2 separate regions of the Homo sapiens genome follow, and region 2 is linked to region 1. Evidence: promoter capture Hi-C in human tissues and cell types (Jung and others, 2019). All regions are on one chromosome and are shown on one strand. The core of a region is centred on a gene start or on the middle of the fragment in contact, and the rest is flanking DNA. Distances in the headings are between cores, read along the strand shown. Region 1 holds the start of ZNF74 (zinc finger protein 74). Region 2 holds the start of SERPIND1 (serpin family D member 1).

Region 1 (5,655 bases), core at 2,074-4,573:
GTTACACAACTGTATACGTTTGCTCAACCTCATCAAATTGTATACTTAAAATTGTACAACTGTGCTGTATATAAATTACACCTCAATAAAACCTTACCCCCCAAAACACTGGATTTCAGATGAGGAGGTAGAGATGAGGACAAATGCTGAGAACACACCCCTAACTGAGGCATGCAGGCATGAAGGATGACGATAGCCGAGGGAAGGAGAAAATGGGCTGAAACAAGGCTCCAAGCCAGGTGTGGGGGCACACACGTTGGTCCCAACTACTTAGGAGGCCGAGGTGGGGGATTTGCTTGAGCCCAGGAGTTGAAGGCTGCAGTGAGCTATGATTGTGCCACTGCACTCCAGCCTGGGCGACAGAGCAAGACTCTGTCTCAAAAAAAAAAAAAGAAAAAGAAAGAAAAACAAAAAAATAGCTCCACAGGTATCAGAATATGGTGTTGGCCAGTGAGGCTGTCAGAGGCTACATGGCTTCAGTGTGGGGAGCAAAACCAGCAAGAGTAGGGTAGGGTCTGAGGCCCGCACAGGCCTTTTTGATGGGTATTTCTGGCCACTGGGAGAAGTCCATGTCTAATGTGTCATCATTCTGCAGGGAAAGGAATAAAAAACCCAGACAGTATGCATTGGAATCAGATGCTGATGTGGTAATGACACTAGCAGAGAAGTCAGAACAGACCACACAAGATGTCCCAGGAGACAGAACAACTTGAACTGTGAGTGAGAATGAGACTGTCAAGAGAAAATGCCAAAGCTGATGTGTACTCAGGAGAGTCAACTGGTTATTCAAAGATCTAACAAGCTAATATTTTAGGAATAGGAATAACACATGCATGAGGGCCCTACCACCTAGACGGAGCTGCACAGACACATACAGACATACATACATGCACACACATTTTTTTTTGCTGAACCATTTGAAGGTAAGTTGCAGACATCATGATGTCTCACTCTACAGTCTTCAGCTTGTATCTCCTGTGGATATTCTCTTACATAATCACAGTACTATTATCACATGCAATAAATTTCATATTGATACAATATGACCTAAGATACAGCCCATTTTCAAATTTCCTCTTGTCCCAAACTGCCCTTTATCAATTTTTTTGGATCTATCCCCTAAGCAAGGAACATGCATTGCATTTGACTGTCAAGTTTCTTGAGGACTATAAAGCATTGTGACACACTACAGAAGTGAGGCACAGCTCACAATACACGTTTTGCAGCTGTTTCTAGCTGGCTATAATCTGCCATCACCTCTTTTGAGTGGCAGACTGACAAAATCACAAAATGCTAAAAAAAAAACAAAAACCCAAAGACCCCTTATTCCTCCACATCTTTCACTCTACTGTGCTCTCTTTGTCAACTGCACCCTTCTAAATACAACCATGGGGTGAGGTGGTTGCGGTAGAAAAACAAAATGAGGAACAGAGTTCACAGTCTGTAAAAGGAGGGATCTGGGTCCCATTTGGCTGCAGAAGTTCCCAGGGCCAATTCCTTGCTGAGCCCCCAGATTCTCTAAATCTCCAGGACTCTCCATGAAGGCCCCATGCCAGGGGCTGGGTACAGAGGAAAGCACACAGGGATGTGTCCCCTACCGCCACTCTTAACCAAGTGCTGCAATCCAGCCCTTCCTGAGCTGCTCCACGTGCCCCTGTCTGATTCCAGTCCCAGTAAACCAACCGTGCAAACATCCTGCACCAACCCCTGGCCAGCACGTGGATAGGCAAAGCGACCCCATGTGAGCCGTCAACTACTTTCTCAGATTCCACTAAAACCACTCCTCAGAGCTCCCAGCACAGCGCTGGGCAGAGAGATCCCCAGCAACTGACCCACTGAATTGGACTGGGCGAGACATTCAATAGAGCACATCTCGAGGGCACACCTCGGGCAACATCTGGACTCTTCACTTGGAGCTGTTCCCACTGCCCAGAGCTTCCTGAGGACTGGCCAGCAGGTACCCGGGTGAAGGTCTGTGGAAGGCTGACGATCCAGGGCTGGGGAGGGAATGTGCCAACCCTCTTCATAAAGAAGGAAGAACACACAGCCACTCACCTTGGACCTGGCTTCGGGAAGACCCCAACCCGATATATCCTCGAGATTCTCTTTCAGGGAAAGAGCAGGATCCTGAGAGGAAAGAGCTGGCGAAGGAGAAATGAGTCAAGGTCACGGCTACCAGGCTCACGGCTGAGCTTAAAGCCCACCTGTCGTGGCACAAGTGAGAATCAGAGAGGAGGCAGAACCTGCCAGCAAGGCCAGGTGGGGAACGAGCCCCAGTAGCTAGCACCAACAGAAACAGCATCGAGGAATAATCTGCCTGTGTCTCAGACACTCCAATTCATGACGAAAAGAGCTGCTACCCCCAATCAAGCACGTCTGAGTGGGAACAAATGATTGGGCGCGGGGAAGAAAGAAGCAGGAGGCCAGGAGCGATGGCTCACGCCTGTAATCCCAGCACTTTGGGAGGCCGAGGCGGGCGGATCGCTTGAGCTTAAGACCAGCCTGGGAAACATGGCAAAACCCCGTCTCTACTAAAAATACAAACATTAGCCGGGCGTGGTGGCGCGCGCCTGCAATCCCAACTACTTGGGAGGTTGAGGCGGGAGAATAGTTTGAACCCGGGAAGCAGAGGTTGCAGTGAGCGGAGATCAAGCCATTGCACCACTCCCGCCTGGGTGACAGAGTGAGATTCCATTTAAAAAAAAAAAAAAAGATGCTGGATGCTTCTGGGAAACTGGCCTGATCTCTCTGAGTGTCAATATCCTCAAGTGCAAATCCACAGACATACTGACTACAAGAGTGAAGCTGTACCTGTCTTCTCGGGCTCCGGGGCAGGGATCTCCATGGCCTCCACGGCAGCCTCCCCAGGAGGAGTGGGCAGCTGTGTAGCCTCCAGGATCCAGGGCAGGCCCTGAAGAGCGAGTACTGCTCCTGGGGCTGAGGGGCCTGCAGCGGAGCCCCGCGGGGCGGCCACGCGCTCACAGCTGCACGATCACACGCACGGAGCCCCCTCCCCGCGCCCGGCTGAGGTGGGGTTCAGGCCGGCTCCGCAGATACCCACTCCCCACACCAGGCTCAGCCCCATGCTCGGCGCACTCACGCCCCGGCACACCCCCGCCACACGCTCCTCCCGGCGAACCCGCGCTCGGAGACCAGGGCCAGGCCTAAGGTTCCGCGGCCAGGAGCCATCGGACGCGGAGCGACCAGCGGACAGGTCCCGAAGCGGACAGAGACCGCCGACGGTCTGAGGGACCGGCAAGTGGACAGACCGGACTCCCACAAAAGGACTGCGACTGCCACAAAGAGCAGCAGGCGGCCGCTGCGGGAAAGCGCGCCTGCGCGAAATAGGCGCAAACTACACCTCCCGGGAGCGTTTGCGCCGCGCAGGCGTCAGACTCCATTTCCTAGAGCGAGTTCGGGCCGGTGCTTGCGTCCCGACGCGAACGAGTATCTAGCACATCCTTCTAGGAAATGTAGTTCCTGGGCCCACAGCCGGGAGCTCCGGCACCCACCATGCTCTTGCGGGCGGATGTCGCTGTGTATCTCCGTGTGCGGATCAGTGTAGTGCCGCTGCATGGGTGTCTAATTGCGAGGATACTGGGAGGGCGGTGTCCAGGAACTAGAATTTGTCCTGTTAGTTCGTCCACGTCCCCACGTAGCTGGGAGTCGGGTGGGTTCCTGCCCACATCTGTCTGCAGGAAAGACTCAAGCCCCTGGTCTTACGGATATTGGGAGTGGTGGGTCTGGCCTCGAGGGGTTTTCCAGGGGCCCTGCCCCCACTCCCCCTTCTCGAGCCACATATCTGAGGCCCATGGGCGCGGGTCCCCAGAGGTGGGAGAGCCTTGGCCTAGTCCCCCCAGAGGGTCCTGTCCACAGTTCACCCCTGGGGCGGGAAAGGAAGGTCTGGGTGGCGGCCCAGTCCTGGCGGCACAGAGCTCTGCCATGAACACAGTGATGACGCCAGCGACAGAAACATTGAATATGTACTGAGCACCAACCAAACGCCAGGCCTACTTCAAGAGCTTGGAGTACATTTTTCTGGCAGAATGCTCACAGCAGTCCAGGGAGGTTTGCTAACTACTGTCATCCCATTTGGGAGATGAGGAAGTTGTGGTACAGGTGCGTGGGGTAACGTGTCGCAAATCACACAGCCAGAAGTAGGAATCCAGCACCGAAGTGCATTGCCACATTCCTACTGAGAGGTGGTCCGGGGTGGTGCACACTCCAAACCCTTCAGCCTCCCACCTTAACCGCAGCTTAGGCTTGGCCACAGGCTCTCACGTGACACCTGTCCACTGCCCACATCAGCACAGCTGTGCCCAGACCTCCCCTGCCCAGGGCAGCGCCCGTGTTTGATTTTGTTTTGAGACTGGGTCTCACTCTGTCGCCCAGGCTGGAGTGCAGTTGCACAATCACGGCTCACCGTAGCCTCAGTCTCTCGGGCTCAAACTATTCTCCCACCTCAGCCTCCGGAGTAGCTGGGACTTACAGACATGCACCACCACGCCCGGTTAATTTTTATATTCAGCGCCCATTTTTAATAGCAACCCAGTGAGAGGGGACAGCGTGCTGGCAGTCCTCACAGCCCTTGCTCGCTCTCGGCGCCTAGTCGGCCTTGGCGCCCACTCTGGCCGCGCTTGAGGAGCCCTTCAGCCCACCGCTGCACTGTGGGAGCCCCTTCCTGGGCTGGCTGCGGCCGGAGCCGGCTCCCTCAGCTTGCCGAGAGGTGTGGAGGGAGAGGCGCGGGCGGGAACCGGGACTGCGCGCAGCGCTTGCGGGCCAGCACGAGTTCCGGGTGGGCGTGGGCTCAGCGGGCCCCGCACTCGGAGCTGCCAGCCGGACCCGGGCAGTGAGGGGCTTAGCACCTGGGCCAGCAGCTGCTGTGCTCGACTTCTCGCCGGGCCTTCGTTGCCTCCCCGCGGGGCAGGGCTCGGGACCTGCAGCCCGCCATGCCTGAGCCTACCCACCGCCGTGGGCTCCTGCGCGGCCCAAGCCTCCCCGACAAGCGCCGCCCCCTGCTCCACGGCGCCCAGTCCCATCGACCACCCAAGGGCTGAGGAGTGCGGGCGCACGGCGCGGGACTGGAAGGCAGCTCCACCTGCGGCCCCGGTGCGGGATCCACTGGGTGAAGCCAGCTGGGCTTCTGAGTCTGGTGGGGACTTGGAGAACCTTTATGTCTAGCTAAGGGATTGTAAATACACCAGTGGGCACTCTGTGTCTAGCTTAAGGTTTGTAAACACACCAATCAGCACCCTGTGTCTAGCTCAGGGTTTGTGAATGCATCAATCGACACTGTATCTAGCTACTCTGCTGGGGACTTGGAGAACCTTTATGTCTAGCTAAGGGGTTGAAAATACACCAATCGGCACTCTGTATCTAGCTCAAGGTTTGTAAACACACCAATCAGCACTCTGTGTCTAGCTCAGGGTTTGTGAATGCATCAATCAACACTGTATCTAGCTACTCTGGTGGGGACTTGGAGAACCTTTATGTCTAGCTAAGGGATTGTAAATACACCAATTGGCACTCTGTATCTAGCCCAAGGTTTGTAAATGCACCAATCAGCACTCTGTGTCTAGCTCAGGGTTTGTGAATGCACCAGTGGACACTCTGTATCTAGCTAATCTAGTGGGGACGTGGAGAACTTTTGTGTCT
Region 2 (5,655 bases), core at 1,678-4,177, 380 kb before region 1:
AAAAAACTGCCTTTTGTTAAGCTTATTTTGTGTCTGTGACCATTTCCTATTAGATAGATATTTGAGGCCCAGAATATCTGCTGCCAGTTGAGGCCAGGTAAGAGTTACTGGCTGCTCTTGTTAAGCAAATATTTGAACTCAGTAGGCCTGAAGATGGGGTAACTGTTCGGATACTCTGCTTGAAATGCTGTCAGTGTGGTTAATGTTGATAATGGCCTCTGTTGGATGCCTGACACGCTGTATAAGGCACTTCGTGTAACTTAGTTTCATCCTCCCAACATTTTATATATCAGGAGACTGAGCCTTTCGTCACTGTCACTAATAAGTGGCAGTGGCTAGATTCGAACCAAGTTGGTTAAGCCTCTAAGCCCCACATCAAGCGCTCAGCCTTGTTCGCTCTGGAGTACCAGGATGCTTCCAGACTCCCTGGCCGTGCAGAGCAGCTTCCTAGCTGTTTTCCCAGTGCCAGTCCCATTCCTTGGGTCTTCCCCTTATAATACTGTTGAAATAGTAAGTTCAAAGTTTGTTTTAGTCACAACTAAGAAAGACTTTTGAATTGCACATTTTGGAGCAGGAAAGTCACATTGTTTCTGACTCAAAATGCCTGTTGCCTTTTCCAGGTCCCCATCTCAGCACCTGCCTCAGGCTGCAGTGCCACTAGTTTACACACGGGAAAACAGTTTCTAGAAACGATTTCTTTTTATTTTTATTTTGAGACGGCGGGGTCTCACTCTGTCACCCAGGCTGGAGTGCAGTGGCACAATATTGGTTCACTGCCACCTGTTCCTCTCAGGCTCAAGAGACCCTCCCACCTCAGCCTTTTGAAGTAGCTGGGACCACAGGTGTGTGCCACCAAACCCAGTTAATTTTTTGTGTTTTTGGTAAAGATGGGGTTTTACCATGTTGCCCAGACAGGTCTCAAACTCCTGAGCTCAGGCAATTCTCCTGCCTTGGCCTCCCAAAGTGCTGGAATTACAGGTATGAGTTACCATGCTCAGCCTCTAGAAATGATTTCTAATGTATGTAGCTGCAAATAGAACTGGGCCCAGTTTCTGAATGGCACTTTGAGTAACTTAGCTTCATCCTCCCAGCATTTTACATATCAGGAGACTGTGTATCAATAGCAACACACTTTTAAAAGTCAGGAACAAAGAAAGTAAGCAGCTGGTAGAAGGCTCCTTGCCCAACTACACTTCAAGTGTCCTCCTCTTATCACTTCTTGGCCTTTTGGCTAAGATCAAGAAGAAGAAGACCAGGCATAGGGGCTCACACCTGTAATCTTAGCATCTTGGGAGGCCAAGGCAGGAGGATCGCTTGAGCCCAGGAGTTCAAGACCAGCTGGAGCAACATAGCAAGACCTCATCTCTATTTTAAAAAAGAAAGCCAAAAGAAGAAGGAACAAAGGGGGAAAATGTTTTCTTCTCAGATAAAAATAAGGTTAAAGAACAAAACAAAAACCAACTTGAATAAATAAGCATTCAGGAAAACGTATCTGAGGCCAGATAGAGTGGCAGAGTAAAGACATGCATGTTTTATCCCGGTATTCAGAAGTTATATTTGGAAACTTCTTATACCCTGTTCCCACATTATCTGATAAAAAGCCAAAAATAGTTTTCGTCATTCCCTTACCAGAGGAAGGAGAAAATATCTCTGATATCTTTTATGGATTGAAATTAAAGATCTGAAGGTAAATCTTCCTGATGTTTTGCTATTTAGTATAACAAACATTGTAGAAGACGTTTAAAAACTATCACTAGGTTGTGATTAAATCCAGATTACTGTTTGAAGAGAAACAATATATTTTAAAGATAAATCATTCAAAAGTTTGTTTTGCTTTTTTTTTTTCCTGGGAACTTCATATTGTGCTTTCTTGCTAATTGCCAGAGCTGGGTTGGCCTTTTCAGTCACGCATCAGAGCATAACACTTGATAAACCGTCATCCCTCCTGGTGTATGGTCTCCAGGCCCAACAGAGCAGGCAGAATGGGAGAGAAGTAACTGCCTAAAGTTTGGAAAACTTTTTATTTTGAAGTAAGTTCAAACTTCCAAAAATGTTGAAAGAATAGTGTAGTAGAACAACTCCTGTATACCCGTACCGAGATTTACCAGGTTTAAAATTTTGGAACCTTTGCCCTGTCATTATCTGTGTGTGTGTGTACGTACGTGTGTGTTCTCACAGGCATGCACATACACATTTTTTCTTCTAGACCATTTGAGAGTAGGTCTCCTATATCTTGTTCCTCTAACATTTTTTCTTTTTTCTTCTTTTTTTTTTTTTTTTTGACGGAGTCTAACTCTGTTGTCCAGGCTGGAGTGCAGTGGCACGATCTCCGCTCACTGCAACCTCTGCCTCCCGGGTTTAAGCGATTCTCCTGCCTCAGCCTCCTGAGTAGCTGGGATTACAGGCGCGTGCCACCACGCCCAGCTAATTTTTGTATTTTTAGTAGAGACTTGGCTTCACCATGTTGGTCAGGCTGGTCTTGAACTCCTGACCTCGTGATCCACCCGCCTCGGCCTCCCAAAGTGTTGGGATTACAGGCGTGAGCCACTGCACCCGGCCCCTCTAACCTTTAATACTAATACTTCAGGGAAAATACCCAAGAGCAAGGATATTCTCATACATAATCACAGGACAGTTATCCAATTCGATTAATTTAATATAAGTACAATATTTTCATCTATTCCACAGCTCCTATTCTAAGTTTGTCAACTCTCCCAACAATGGAACTGACACAATTTTATAATAGGCACACTGAAAAATGAAACCATTTCCCACTTCTAAAACAGTGTAGAAAGCTTCTGAATTCTTAGTTTGCTAGAAAAATGAACCAGTTGCCTATCCGTAAACACCAAAAATAATTTATAATCAGCAGAAACATTAGAAACCCAACTTACCTCTGTGTTTCTGAGAAGTGGCGCTTCAGAGATGAAAGCAGCCAAGGTCATCAGTGGGATTTTGATGTGAACTTTGGTGCTGGGCTGTTGCTGCATATTTTCCAAAGTAAATAAGTCCCAATCCAAACACCAGGCAACCAGCTTGGTCAGCACAAACCCCCTCAGCTGTGCCTTTGATAACTGTAGAGTGGCTTGCAGCTCCTCATCTCCAGTTCTTAGAGCTGACACTTTGAGTATATGACGGTTACTGTGTTAGCATGCACACATAGCCTTGGTGCAGGAGCAGCCCCTCTTGAGGTCACCACATAAACAAGGCGCTCTTCAGGCCTCTGGGGACCAGGCTGCATTGAGGGTAGCTGAAAGTAGAGACCATGCATCTGCCTCCAACTGTGTCCTCTCTTCTGGGATGATCACAGCATCTGCCCTCCACCTGCTCTCCAGGACTGATGTGGCTGGCTCAGCTACTAGGCGGGTGTCCCTGTCCTTCCAAGAGCTCGTTCCTCAGTGAAAGGTGGAGGAGAGAGGACAAAATTAGTGGCTTACAGAATAAGGGGATTGTGGCATGGACCTTTCTTCAGTCAAGGGTTGCTGTGTTTGTTGCCAGTAGGTGCAGCCCAGCACTCCTGTCTGTTGTGGGACAGATAGGACTATTACTGAGCAGTGCCTCCCAAATTCAGGGCCACTTAGGCATTCGTGGGGATCTCTGAGGCTGTGATACATTTTGTGTTTATGGGTGTTTGTTTGTTTGTTTGTTTGTTTTGAGACAGAGTTTCGCGCTGCTGCCCATGCTGGAGTGCAGTGGTGCGATCTCAGCTCACTGCAACCTCTGTCTCCCAAGTTCAAGCGTTCTCCTGCCTCAGCCTCCTGAGTGGCTGAGATTACAGGCGCACACCACCATGTCCAACTAATTTTTTGTATTTTTAGTAGAGACGGGGTTTCACTATGTTGGCCAGGCTGGTGTTGAACTCCTGGAGTGAAGTGATCCTCCCGTCTCGGCCTCCCAAAGTGCTGGGATTACATGCGTGAGCCACCACGCCTGGCCCTATGTGTTTTTTGAGACAGGGTCTCACTCTGTTACCCAGGCTGGAGTGCAGTGGCGTGATCTTGGCTCACTGCAGCCTCAACCTCCCGAGCTGAAGCAATCCTCCTCACCTCAGCCCTGCAAGTAGCTGGGAATACAGGTGCACACCACCATGTCTAGCTAACTTTTGACTTTTTTGTAGAGACAGGGTCTCACTATGTTGCCTAGGCTGGTCTTGAACTCTTGGGCTCAAGTGATCCTCCTGCTTCAGCCTTGCAAAGTGCTGGGATTACAGGCATGAGTCACTGTGCCCGGCCTTATGATAATTTGTTTTTTAATTTGTGTTTTAAATTTTATGATCTAAAAAGTTTTAAGAATATTCTGGATTGTCTGGAAGATCAGCTTATCACAGAGACTGCTCCTCAAGAGCATGTTTGGGAGTGTCGGCACCCAGAGTCTATCTGAAGAGAGAATGTGACTCCTAGGAGAATCTGCGGGTGTGCAAGGGGCCCATGGGGGTGTCTGTGCATTGCTCCGTTTGAGAAATTCCAGAGTGTAAAGGTCCATTGTGTTCAGGACACAGACCGGTGGTTGTGTCTGAGTCTGATTTTGCACTCTAGCTTTTGTCAGAGCTGTCTTCTTAGAGCCTTCATCTGTCACATACAATACTGAGTCTTCAGCGTGGCACCACAGGCAGAGGCTGCTGTCTGTGCCCACACTCCTCGTGGGCCCACCTCCCTCATTCTCTGTCTTGTTCTCACACATGCAAAGCCCGGCCCCAGCACAGCCCTGGCACTTGCTATTCTTTCTGCCCAGGACACCATCCCTGCAGACCAGCAGGTGGCCGCTGCTCTCACTGTTCGCTCTTGGTTTCACCGAGGCGTCACCAGCCACCCTGGCTGAAATTGCCCCTTGGCCTCCAGCTCTCAGTATTCTGCTCTCTGAAATGAGGGTGACAGTTACACCTACTGCATGAGGTTGTTGTGAAAATTAAATGAGATACATTAATTTATCTCATTAATTAAATGAGAAAATTAAATGAGGTTAATGAATGTGTGGAAAGCACATAGAGTGGTGCCTGGCATTCAGAAAATGTTAGTCCTCATCATTTCATGGTATTACATATTTATTCACAGAAATGGTCTGGGAGGGGACACAGCATTCATTTTTCATTCTATGTACTTCTTTGTTTGACCTTTTTCTATGTGTATGTATTACTTTTGTTATTTTTAAAGCCAGTACCGGCCAGGTGTGGTGGCTCACACCTGTAATCCCAGCACTTTGAGAGGCCAAGGCGGGTGGATCACTTGAGGTCAGGAGTTCAAGACCAGCCTGACCAACATGGTAAAACCCCGTCCCTACTAAAAATACAAAAATTAGCTGGGTGTGGTGGCACACATCTGTAGTCCCAGCTACTCGGGAGGCTGAGGCAGGACAATCGCTTGAACCTGGGAGGTGAAGGTTGCAGTGAGCCGAGTTCATGCCACTGTACTCCAGCCTGGGTGACAGAGTGAGACTCTGTCTAAATAAATAAATAAATAAATAAATAAATAAATAAAGCCAACATATTTCCTGTCTATTTGGATTTCTGATCATGTAACCCACTATTGGAAAAATTTGATTTCAGTCCCTCTTGACATTGACATTTTTCAGTCATTTTCCCATTTAGTGGTAACAGCTTGTGTATGGCTTTTTTTTTTTTGAGACAGAGTCTCGCTCTGTCGCCCAGGCTGGAGTGCA

What was found. Contacts are between HindIII fragments. The study calls those that stand out against the background at their distance.
Region 2: the fragment with the promoter of SERPIND1 here is called in contact with the fragment with the promoter of ZNF74 in region 1 in 3 of the 25 tissues and cell types used here (heart right ventricle, lymphoblastoid cells and mesenchymal stem cells).

What each region holds. Positions count from the first base shown.
Region 1 is chr22:20,391,819-20,397,473 of GRCh38, reverse strand. ZNF74 (zinc finger protein 74) reads right to left here and starts at 3,323. Exons shown (of 5, transcript NM_003426.4): 1 at 2,812-3,323; 2 at 2,056-2,141. The coding sequence starts at 2,845. RefSeq lists enhancers at 3,143-3,282, 3,753-3,822, 3,224-4,213. The HindIII fragment of the contact is 17,508 bases long and covers 1-5,655 here.
Region 2 is chr22:20,771,385-20,777,039 of GRCh38, reverse strand. It overlaps SERPIND1 (serpin family D member 1), which reads right to left and starts at 2,927. Exons shown (of 5, transcript NM_000185.4): 1 at 2,895-2,927. All of the region lies in intron 19 of PI4KA (phosphatidylinositol 4-kinase alpha), which reads left to right. The HindIII fragment of the contact is 14,489 bases long and covers 1,409-5,655 here.